Regions from separate parts of the Homo sapiens genome. Here region 1 is linked to region 2. Evidence: promoter capture Hi-C in human tissues and cell types (Jung and others, 2019). All regions are on one chromosome and are shown on one strand. The core of a region is centred on a gene start or on the middle of the fragment in contact, and the rest is flanking DNA. Distances in the headings are between cores, read along the strand shown. Region 1 overlaps EPS8 (EGFR pathway substrate 8, signaling adaptor). Region 2 holds the start of DERA (deoxyribose-phosphate aldolase).

Region 1 (5,840 bases), core at 558-3,057, 140 kb before region 2:
GAACCACTGAAGAGTTTTAAGCAAGGTAGTTAACATGATTAGCAGTGAGAGACGGAAGAGGAGAGTGCTCTATCAGCCATTTGCTGACTCAAAAAGATTTAATGACTGTTGACATATAGGTGGGGCAGAAAGGTGGGTAAGAAAAAGAGTCCAGGAAAAATTCAGATTTCTAAGGTTGTCATTTGGATAAAAGTCACTCCAAGTAGAGAGACAGAAAGAGATGAGGGGGCCAGAGTAAAAGCAAGAAATTAATTTTGGGAAATGTGAAGTCTGAGGGGCCTGTGTGATATTCAGCTTCAGTCATAAATAGAGTTAGAGTTCCCAAGAAAGGCATCACCTGAAGAACTGAGAGTAACTGTTCTAAACGAAACACTGAGGTTCCCTAGAAAGAGAATGAAACTTAGGCTGTAACATGAAATGAGATGAAGGCTAAGAAAATAATTCCAGAAAATCCAGAAACTTTTCAACTTGTGAGTGTTCTGAGAATACACAAAACCATGAACTGAGGCACAAAATAAATAAATAAATAAATAAAGCATTGGCTCTCACTGCTGCCAACAGATGGTGCTAGAACTTACTTGAGAGTTTCACTTAGGAAGAATTTTGGATACCTATTCCATCCCAAGTAGCAGAGCTTCTGAATCAACATCTAAGTGTAGATGGGTAACAAAGCAGAGGTAGATGTTAACCAGGAAAGAACAGCACCACCACAGGAGCCAAAGGAAGAGAATATTCTTTTTATTTAAAAGAAGGCAAAAATCATTACAAACATACATTCATTCAGCAAATAGACGGGTCTACAAAGTACCAGAAACCCTAAATGGTAAAAATTCATAGTGAACGAGACACAGTTTATGTCCTCAAAGAGTTTACAGGTAAATGCTACAGCAAAATCAAGTAAAAACTAAACATTTTCCTTTTGGTTTAGCTTTTAGAAGATGGCAGATGACCTACAGACATAAGCTCAGCATCAGACCACAGTGGGCTCGCTGATGTAGGAGAAGTGAAGAGGAAACCATAGACATTAAGCTTCTCTTCAAGAATCTTAGGTGGAAACAAGACAGAAATAAGGCAGCAGCAAAAGGATGTTAAGAGACTATGTTCCATATATGCAGAATACCTCACCAAGACACACCTGAACTCCAAGAGCTTACTATATACACACTTGGACATAGGTACATATAAGAGAGAGAAGAATCACATTTTAAACTGACTCCATAATACATTTTGCAATAGAGGCCTGAATTATTAAAATTACATTCTAATGTTATTAATTGTGATTATTAATGGTTCTTTTACTATGCTCTGGTTTAAGTCAAGTTGAAAATTAGAAGGCAATCATGAAGCCACAAAATTTCAATCATCCTCAGAAGAAGGAGGAAATGAATGGGGATACCCTGGTATTAAACATATGCACAGGACCAAATTATGTGTTAAAGGGAGATAGATACATGAAATATTTTAGAACTGTGTTTATCAGCCCCTTCAAGAGACTATGGAGAGAGATTTAAGAAAAAAAAAAAGCATTGGGGATAAGAAGAGAGACATGATGCAGCAGAAGCAAGTAAGTATTCTAAGTACAAGTACTTATTAGAAAGAATAATGTGATATTAACAAGTCTAGCTGACATAGTCTGCATCAGTTTTATCATTCCAGCAAATAATCTCAGGACAACATTATTTTGACAGCATATGACATGAATCAAATGCATATCATAGGAAGAAGAAAGAAGTTCCTATCTGTGTCTAGTAAACAGAGTGACAAGGTGGCAATCAGGGGAAGTCAATGTCTGACCAAACAAAAGTAATTCACATTGGTAACTATAATTCTCTCTCATTTTTGCAGTAGCAATTTATAAAATTTATAATAAAGGCTAGAAATTTTTTGTGACTTTAATAAACATAATCAATTTCATGCATTCATAAATATTTGTTAAAATTTCTTTAACAGCCTCATCTTCTTTGGATAGTCGAGCAAATGTCACCAGAAGTGTACAAACTAATTTACTGCAGAAAAGCAGGAAAATAATTCCACCATCTTTTACCAATATATTCAAATACTACCTTTGAAAAAAATTCTTCAAAAATAACTAATTTTTAGCGTGTCATCAATTAAAAAAAAAAGATTCTCTGGTAATGGTTTGCTTGAGCCACGAATAAGAAGGAATAACCAAAATGAGGAACTAATGAATTTTTTCTTTTGGAAAAGAGGTGCCTGTATGCTACACCTCTTTTACAGATTTGATAAAACTGCAGAGATGAATTTATATATCTACCCCCCTCCTTCACCCCACCCCCCCTGCAACTTGCATACAGGCCTAGTGTTATTTAAGCAAACAGTAAACAGCTATTACTCTTCAGTTAGGTAGACAGAACTTGGAAAATTATTAGATCACAAGGTTGCCACAGGGACGCCAACCATCTGTCTAGTAAGTATGAATGACTTCTTCCTCCCTGTTATCCTGTATTCTACAATGCTCAATAGGCAAGGTAAGGGAAAGGTTACAGGTTTGTTATACATATACATATATATATATATACACATATAAATATATATGTACACATATAAAATATATATACATATATAAATATAAATATACATACATACATATAAAATATATATACACACATATATATATTTTAAACATATAAATATATAAATATATATATATATAAAAAATAGTGACCAAAATATTTGGTCCAAATTACCAACAGGGTGGGAAAACTCAGGGACTTTTATTCTTCCACAGCCAACAAAGTAATCAATGATTTGACAAATATTTATCTAAAGCCTTCTTTGTGCACAGAAATCTTTTTTTTAGTTCAGTGTATAATGGCCCAATCCATGCATGCTTAGTATTTAAAAGCAATTCTTGACCCTGCTACCAAACAATTAAGCTCCCTGCAGTGCAAATAAGGAAGTTTTTTGAAACAGATAGTTATGAATCTTTCATTCATAGTAGCTAACTAGAAACATATGAGCCAAACCCATTGTGAGTATCATTTCAGTGGTGTGTAATTTGAGAGGTGTGTTAGAATGCGCTTGGCCCCACTAAAGAAGGAGTCCACATTTTCCTTGCTTGCAAGTGAAATGCAAAAACAATTTTGCAACTTGGCAATTCATATGGCAGTCTTAAAGTTACCCACATTCAAAATTCAAGACAATAGAATTTTCCCCATCTCTAAGGTTTAACACTTTACGATCAGCCTAAGGTGTTACATATGAATTCATTTTATGAATAATGGCTTCTTCACTCCCAAAAGCTTGCAGGAAAAAATACTGAATACCGTATATAAAAATGACACAAACCACACTTGTCTGGTCTGATCTTAAATTGACCTTAATAGTTTAAAATCTTTCAAAGGGAGTACTGATATACTGTAATTTTCCCCAAAGCTCATAAATAGCCAACGTTCCTTTGTGGAATCATTGTAAAATACATGTAATTTGGAAATAGACTTATTTTATAAATCCACAGTACCAGTATATGTAGAAAAACAATACAAAATGTGAATATCATTACATTTGAATAGGAAAAAATGTGAATCTATATTAAGGAAAGAGGGCGAGAAAAGCAAAAAAGATTAGCCTTTATTTTCCAGATTTTTGAGCCCTTACCTAGAACCTGATGCTTCTGTTAAGTTTTTATGCTTCTTTTCATTTAGGTGTCTAACATCACGCAGTCCACAAGGATAAGAATGTTGTCTATCTTGTCAATTAGAGTATTCTCATTATTTAGTACTAGCACTTAATAGGCACTTATTTAATATTTCTTTATTGACAGATAAATTTCATTAACTGAAACAAAATTATTTTCTATTAGGTAAAGTTGTATATTCCAGGACTGTTAGATCAAGAAACTAGATTGGGTTACATTAAGCCAATGGGCCTGCTAATGATTTAGCAAAATTCCTATCTCATATATGCGTATCACAAGAAAGAACACTGGAAAAAGCTGAAATGAATCAAACCAGATCTGACACCACTACAACAAACAAAACTCACCTTCACATACAAAGGGCAGTTCCATATGTATTTTATTATATATTCAATATAAATTTGTGTACATATTTCTCTCCAGCAATTTTTCTTTTAAAAGAAATTTTTGCCCAAGTATTCTCCTTTCCAGTGATTGGTATGGTTGATATCAGTAACAGAAATAGCAAGAATAATTAGAAAGGGAGGAAGAAGCAGCTGAAATGATCATAGCTAGAAGCTTTTAAATGTAATTTTGGGGGGAAATAATACACTTCTGGCTGAACTAGTTTATCTAGCCTTAAAAGTTAAGCCATGTTCTCAAGTCAGCCCCTGCAAAGGAGCAATCCGGTACTCTTTTGGAAGAGAGAAAAAAACAGCTGGCTTAGGTGAGTGACCTACTCTAAAAACCTTCCCCTCAAGTTCACATGCACACTCTCAGGAACTAACACAGACCTAGATTGGCCTCTATGCATCAGCAAGCATTTGTTACACCTAATACCCAAAACCCAAATGATGCCCACGTTAGCCCAATAACGTCAATGTTAGCTAGAAATGTCTGGCTCAATCTCGCAAGAATAGGAATTTCCACATTCAGAACTGTCTTTTATTTTGCAGTTATTTATTGAATACTTATTCAATATACACTTAAATAATATATTGTTCCTTACAGCATATAATCAAAGTTCCCTAGATATAGCTTATGAAGAGCACAGTGTTAGTAAAAATGGCTGATGGGTTCTTGAGAATTTTAGCGTTTCCCCTTTTGCTACCGCCAAACTATTTTTATATCAGATTCTACCACCACTTGTTTTCCCAATCATTTTATCACTTTATCTATTAGTTTGGAATCTTATTGAAAATTTCATATTTCCCAGTAATGATAGTTTGATTTTATCAATGCCTTTGAAAACCATAAACATAACACAAAATGTATTTGCTAGCCATTGGATTAAATTATCCCATATTTTTAGGTCTTTTATCCTGTAGTCCAATGAGAGCTGATAAAATCATTCTTCAACTATTCTACTAACTGCCTGGCAGAGAGAAAAGATGAAAATAGCTAGAGATAACAGATATAGATGGAGGAAGGACATTGGAGGTAAGATGAAGTCACTTTTATATCTATTTTAAGATTCTTTACAATGCCATGGAGTAGCCTATATAAATTTTTTTTTTACATTATATAACTCAAGATATATTTTAATTCAAATTCTAAAATTCCCTACAGTGATAAGGGGTACTTACAAAGCAGAATGAAAAAAAACACACACACACACACAAAACAAAACAAAAAACCAACAGCATATGTTCTAATATATGACCAAAACCACAGTGGACCTTTCTAATCAGTATAAAAACTGAATGGTGTTAAGATGCATTCCAGTTAAAGTTAAGCACTGTTAACACATTTATTCCGGACTAGATTTCACTCTTTTCATAATGAGATTTTACTATTTCCAAAATCACTTACTTAGTACCCAAATAAGGTAAAGGCGATGAAGGCTTCAATCCCTCCTTTGTTTCAAACCCCCTAGCAGCCTAAACTTAACCTTCACTGTCATAACCACTATGAATGTCTCTTTTATTCAGACTTCTCTCTCCATGACTGAGATCTCACCAGGCAGTGAGAAAGAGTTAGAATAGTAATTGGAAAGCTATCAAAGTTATGAAAAATATACTTTTCTATTAAAGCCATCTGAGGATTGAAAAAGGGTGTCAGAAACGAGCAAAAGGAGGGGGAACAGCTGGGAGGAGGAAAAGAGTTGGGAAAGGGGGTGATGAAGGAAAGCCCACATGGTTATTTATCTGCTTCAAGAGTTGTAAAAGACTATTTTCTTGACAAGACCATGGAAAGTAGCCAG
Region 2 (5,011 bases), core at 1,453-3,952:
TACTCCTATCTCCCAGGACTGGTAGGTTCTTAGAAGCTTCAAGATAAATATTACATATTCCTAGAGCTTTAATTTTAATTAAAGGAGGAGTGAGGGTGGGAGGATAATTAGGTAATTTATTTGGCAGTTTAAAATTTACATTGAAAAACATCAATGAATAGGAATAGCATGCAAAATTTACATGGCTTAAAAAATACAACATGTAATACTTTAAAAGCAATTTTACTCTTGTAAGAGTCAGTTTGGGCTATGGCTCCAGATTGGCATGCATAGTTTATTTTCCTCTGCTTCTCATTGGTGGTTCTTTACGTTTAGTTTGCATAAACATTGTTTGAAGAAATATTAAAATTACAGATTCCAGGGTCCTAGATACTCTGATTGAGTAGGGCTGTGAGGAAGCCCAGAACTGCTTTAGAAAAAGCTCTTGGGTGATTCCCATGTAGTGGTCTATAGCTCTTTCTTTGAGGGGACTTGCCTTAGGGATACTTCAGAAGTTTCATAAGGCAATAAATGTAAAAGGAATCTTCACAAAATGAAATATAGGAACATTTCTCTGTGAAAGAAACTCATTTTTTGCATACTATCCCTGCTGTCTCTCCTAATGTTGCCAAATTAACATACTTTTAAACTGCAGAGATTAATTTGAGATTAATACATTCAACAGGTCCATTTTAGAAAAAGTCCTTGAGAAATTCTTGACTGATACATTGCTAAAACATTGCTTTAAGAGGCTGCCCTAATTCTGATTTTTCAACTAATTTAGGATATCACAATTTAAAAACAAACAAACAAACATTTATGTAATGAATGGTATGGAATCTGGTTTGGAGTTGTGTTTACTTCTAAAAATAGAATTTCATGTATTGCCTTTGTATCTTCTAGAGATGTGAATGATCTCCAGCCAGAGACCACCAGTAACACACCTACAAGTGGACAAAGTTGTGTTTATTGACATTGTAACAAGGGAGAATGCTTGCCATGGGCACCTAATGTGAGGTGTCTCAGTAAGAGGATGTTAGAAACTACATAGGATTTGGGCCTGTCGTAGGTGATTTGGGGAAAGTTCAAGGAAGGATCTGGACTGGATGATGGTAGGAACTGGTGATAGTAGTGCATCTTAATTCTTATCTAAAACATAGGAATGGAGTGAAGCTAGAACTGATTGGTAAAGAAGTCATAATAGCTAGGATAGGGGCTATTTGAACAATATTCATGGTTTTCTATTATCAGACATGATTATGATTATGTTTTTGTTGATTCATTGTGGTCACAATGGCCTTGGCTGATGCTGTGCTGTGAAATTGTATACGTTTAACCAGGGAAAACCATGGTCCAGTTGTGAGTTTCAGGCCAGCTCCAGGCTTTCAGGGCCTGCTTTTCTCTTTTTCAAGGTTAATATAAAAAAGAAAAGTGCTATAGTATGTATGAGTAAGATCTACACACATCCGAAACATTCAACAGTGGCTGTGTGTGGACAAGGCTGAAAGCTCAATGTAGAGGAGTATACAAATATTACTATTCCTATTTAAAACAGCTCAGTAATTACTGTGTGAACTTGACAATAACATTAACAGCTTCCATTTTTTAAGTATCTACTGTATGCCATGTTATGTACTAGGTGCCTTGCATACATTCAACAGCTTTGCAAGGTGAACATATTTTGATCATCTCCACTTTACAGGTAAGTAGACAGACTATTATTTCCAGAACTGCCAAGTTACATTTATTAAATGGAAGAGCTGGTATATTAATGGGTTCAGCTCATTTTGAGCTCACTGTATTTCCCCTATACCAGGATGCCTTTCTATTCAGAACTTTGATGTCTAAAGTTACAGCAATGGAGATAAAATACATTATTGGCAGGATTGTTCAGAGACTCAAATGCTATCATACATCTATATATGATGTATGAAAGCACCTAGCACAATAACTGGCTCATGGTAGACAAATCATAACTAACTGTACTGTTTTCATAGCAGAGGTGCCTCTAAACGTGAGTACAGATAAGTTAACTATATTGAGATTGTGGAGTGACTCGACGATTTTAACCTCTTGGTCACAGAGAAATCAGGCTGAAGCATTTTACCTTTATAGAATCATAGTATTTTGAAGAACCAAGAAATTGTCAAGGTCTTCTTTTACAGATGAGAAAAATGAAGCTCGGAAAAGCAGTTAATTTGCCCAGGGTCACACATTTAATTATTGCCCGAGCTTGGCTAAGAAACCAGGTCTTCTGACTCCTAAGCCCTTGCCTTCTTCAGGCCACATAGCTGCTTCTTTTCATGATGTGTAGATTAGAAAAGTCAGTGTGCCCCGGGGCCCTTGATTGCACCTTGGTTTCCCTAACAAGGATATGGGATCCCTGCTGACATTTCAGACCTTAAGTTGCAGAGCTCTGCACTTGGATCTTCTTCCTTCTTGTTATATAATCTTACAGTTAAAAGTTTCTAGGAATATTTTTATTACGTGCAATTGGCAACTTCAGTATTTTTTAAAGGGTGTTGGTAGCATTATTTCCGGGAGCTACTTAGCGCTCCGGTTCGGTACCTCGTGGAGAAGACGGGGGAGGGGAGCAGCGAGATTTCCTTGCGGAGCAATATTCCTAGGGTACAGACCTCGTAGCCCGGGCCCGCGACTCCGCCCCGGGAGCGGGCAGGGGCGGGGCGAGCGCTCCAGCTGGCGGGAAGGAGGAAGGGCCGGGCGCGGCGCAGAGGCGGGCGCCTACCAGCCGGCAGCTCCGGAGCTGCCCGCGCCATGTCCGCGCACAATCGGGGCACCGAGCTCGGTAAGGGGCCCGCGGGGCTCCCCATCCCCTCTCCCTCGCGTTCAGCGCCGCCGGGACTAGCGCGGGGCCTGCTGCCGCCCAGTGCCCTGGCTGTGGGTCCCCGAGGGGTTTTCGCTGGGGCGGGAAGCAGTGGCGTCTGGTCAGCCCTCACCCCAAGTAAAGGCCGAACCCGGCACGTTCGCGCCGCTTGTCTTTGCACCTAAGCTTTTACTCTTGTATGCGGAAGGAGTAGGAAAGGGTTAGATTATTATCTTCCTGCCTTTTCGTTCACTCTAGCTCGCTGGTTGGAAAACCCAACAACCCAAAAAACAAAACCCAAAACAAACAACCCCCAAGCAGGTAAAAACAGATAAAAACCTTCTTTCTCCTCCTTTTAATAGAATACTTGTGTAATTTAATGCAGTATTTCCGTAGATAATTTTAACCGTAACCTTGAAGTGGCCGTGCTCGTGGAAAAGTTGTCAGCCGTCTGTGCTCAAAATGTAACACTGCAGATTCATGGGATTTTAGAGTTACAAAGATTTGTTAAAGTACCTGTATTATTTCCCAGTTTTCATCTTTTTTTATATTGTTCAAATACTGGCAAGAAACCTTAGTTCAGATTTCTTTTTTTTTTTTTTTTATTGATCATTCTTGGGTGTTTCTCGCAGAGGGGGATTTGGCAGGGTCATAGGACAGTAGTGGAGGGAAGGTCAGCTGATAAACAAGTGAACAAAGGTCTCTGGTTTTCCTAGGCAGAGGACCCTGCGGCCTTCCGCAGTGTTTGTGTCCCTGGGTACTTAAGATTAGGGAGTGGTGATGACTCTTAACGAGCATGCTGCCTTCAAGCATCTGTTTAACAAAGCACATCTTGCACCGCCCTTAATCCATTTAACCCTGAGTGGACACAGCACATGTTTCAGAGAGCACAGGGTTGGGGATAAGGTCACAGATCAACAGGATCCCAAGGCAGAAGAGAATTTTTCTTCAGATTTCTTAACATGTGAAAAATTTATAATTCAAACAGCAAAACCATGATCAAGAGAAGGTTTAAGCGTCTCGTTTAAGTATTATAGCTTGGATATCTGTGTATCCAGGATCTTTAACTTCTTACCTGTGTGACTTCGGACAAATTAATAACTTTGCGCTTAAGTTTCTTCATCTGTAAAATGGTTATTTTAGTGGTAGTTACCTTATAAGGCCGTTAGGAGATTAAATAGGATACATGTAAAGTAGTTTGGTATATTGTGGACACCTAGTAAGTCTTCAGTATAGATAGTATTAGTATATGGAGTTATGGTTTTAGGGGCTAATTTTGAGAAAATTGGCTGTAAATTATATGTAACACATACAGGTAGGTCCTTTTCGCCCTCCTTAAAAGTGACTGGTACTTAAACAGTCTGCACTTCCAAGAGGTGTTCTGGATTTTTTGTCGAATGGTAAGAGAGTAAATCTATCATTTTAAAGACAGTTGATTTACTAACCTGGTTGATTTTGTTTTAGTCACTGTCCTCTAGCTGATTATGTTTTAAACTCTAGTCCTATCTCTGGAACGTGGTCTTTAGTAATAACGGCATTATTTCTTAGATTGGAATATCCTTGAAGGTGGTGGATATGGGGCAGGTTTGGGGTGGTGTCTTACCTGGGTATTCCCAGGAATATGACCATGTGACTATGCATACATCAAGGATGTGCCCTAAATTTCCCAAAACTTAGACATTTTAAATTTTTCTTTCAAAAAACATAATTGAACCATTTTTAAATTTATTTATTTGCAGTAATTAGAATCAATCACTTCCATTCATTTGTTGAAAAGTAATAGACATAAATAATTGCCAGGTAGAACAATAGTAAATGTGGTTTTTATGCAGCTATCGAAATGATCATAGCTTTGTATTTATTATCTTATTTGTTAAAATCAGATTTTTTTCCTTCACGGGTATTAATCCTTAATCCAAACAGGTTTAAACTGAAATGCTAAAATAAGTTATTTGAATTAGGTACTAGGGAAAAAAATCTTTCAGTATTAATTTATGCAGTATATTAACTGATGATTTTTAAAATAGTTTTCTAATTGAAAGTCTTTTTAATAAACATCGTAACTAATTTCTAAAATAAATTAACATTTTTGCTTCCCTTTTCTTATTACAAAAGGAATTCATGGTTATTGTAAAAATTCTAGAAAATACAGTTAGCACAAAAATGTTGTAATATTATTACTAGTCCAATCACTGTTATTTATGATTT

The links. The method cuts DNA at HindIII sites, captures the fragments that hold promoters and counts their contacts. A contact is called where the count stands out against the background at its distance.
Region 1: a fragment that was not itself captured here is called in contact with the fragment with the promoter of DERA in region 2 in 1 of the 25 tissues and cell types used here (H1 embryonic stem cells).

The regions. Positions count from the first base shown.
Region 1 is chr12:15,772,038-15,777,877 of GRCh38, forward strand. The region is part of intron 1 of EPS8 (EGFR pathway substrate 8, signaling adaptor); the gene reads right to left. Among named protein-coding and RNA genes, the nearest start is that of EPS8, 14 kb to the right of the region's middle. The HindIII fragment of the contact is 3,863 bases long and covers 1-3,739 here.
Region 2 is chr12:15,908,630-15,913,640 of GRCh38, forward strand. It overlaps DERA (deoxyribose-phosphate aldolase), which reads left to right and starts at 2,703. Exons shown (of 9, transcript NM_015954.4): 1 at 2,703-2,785. The coding sequence starts at 2,755. RefSeq lists enhancers at 2,393-3,137, 3,138-3,881 and silencers at 2,561-2,620, 2,641-2,990. The HindIII fragment of the contact is 4,741 bases long and covers 1-4,440 here.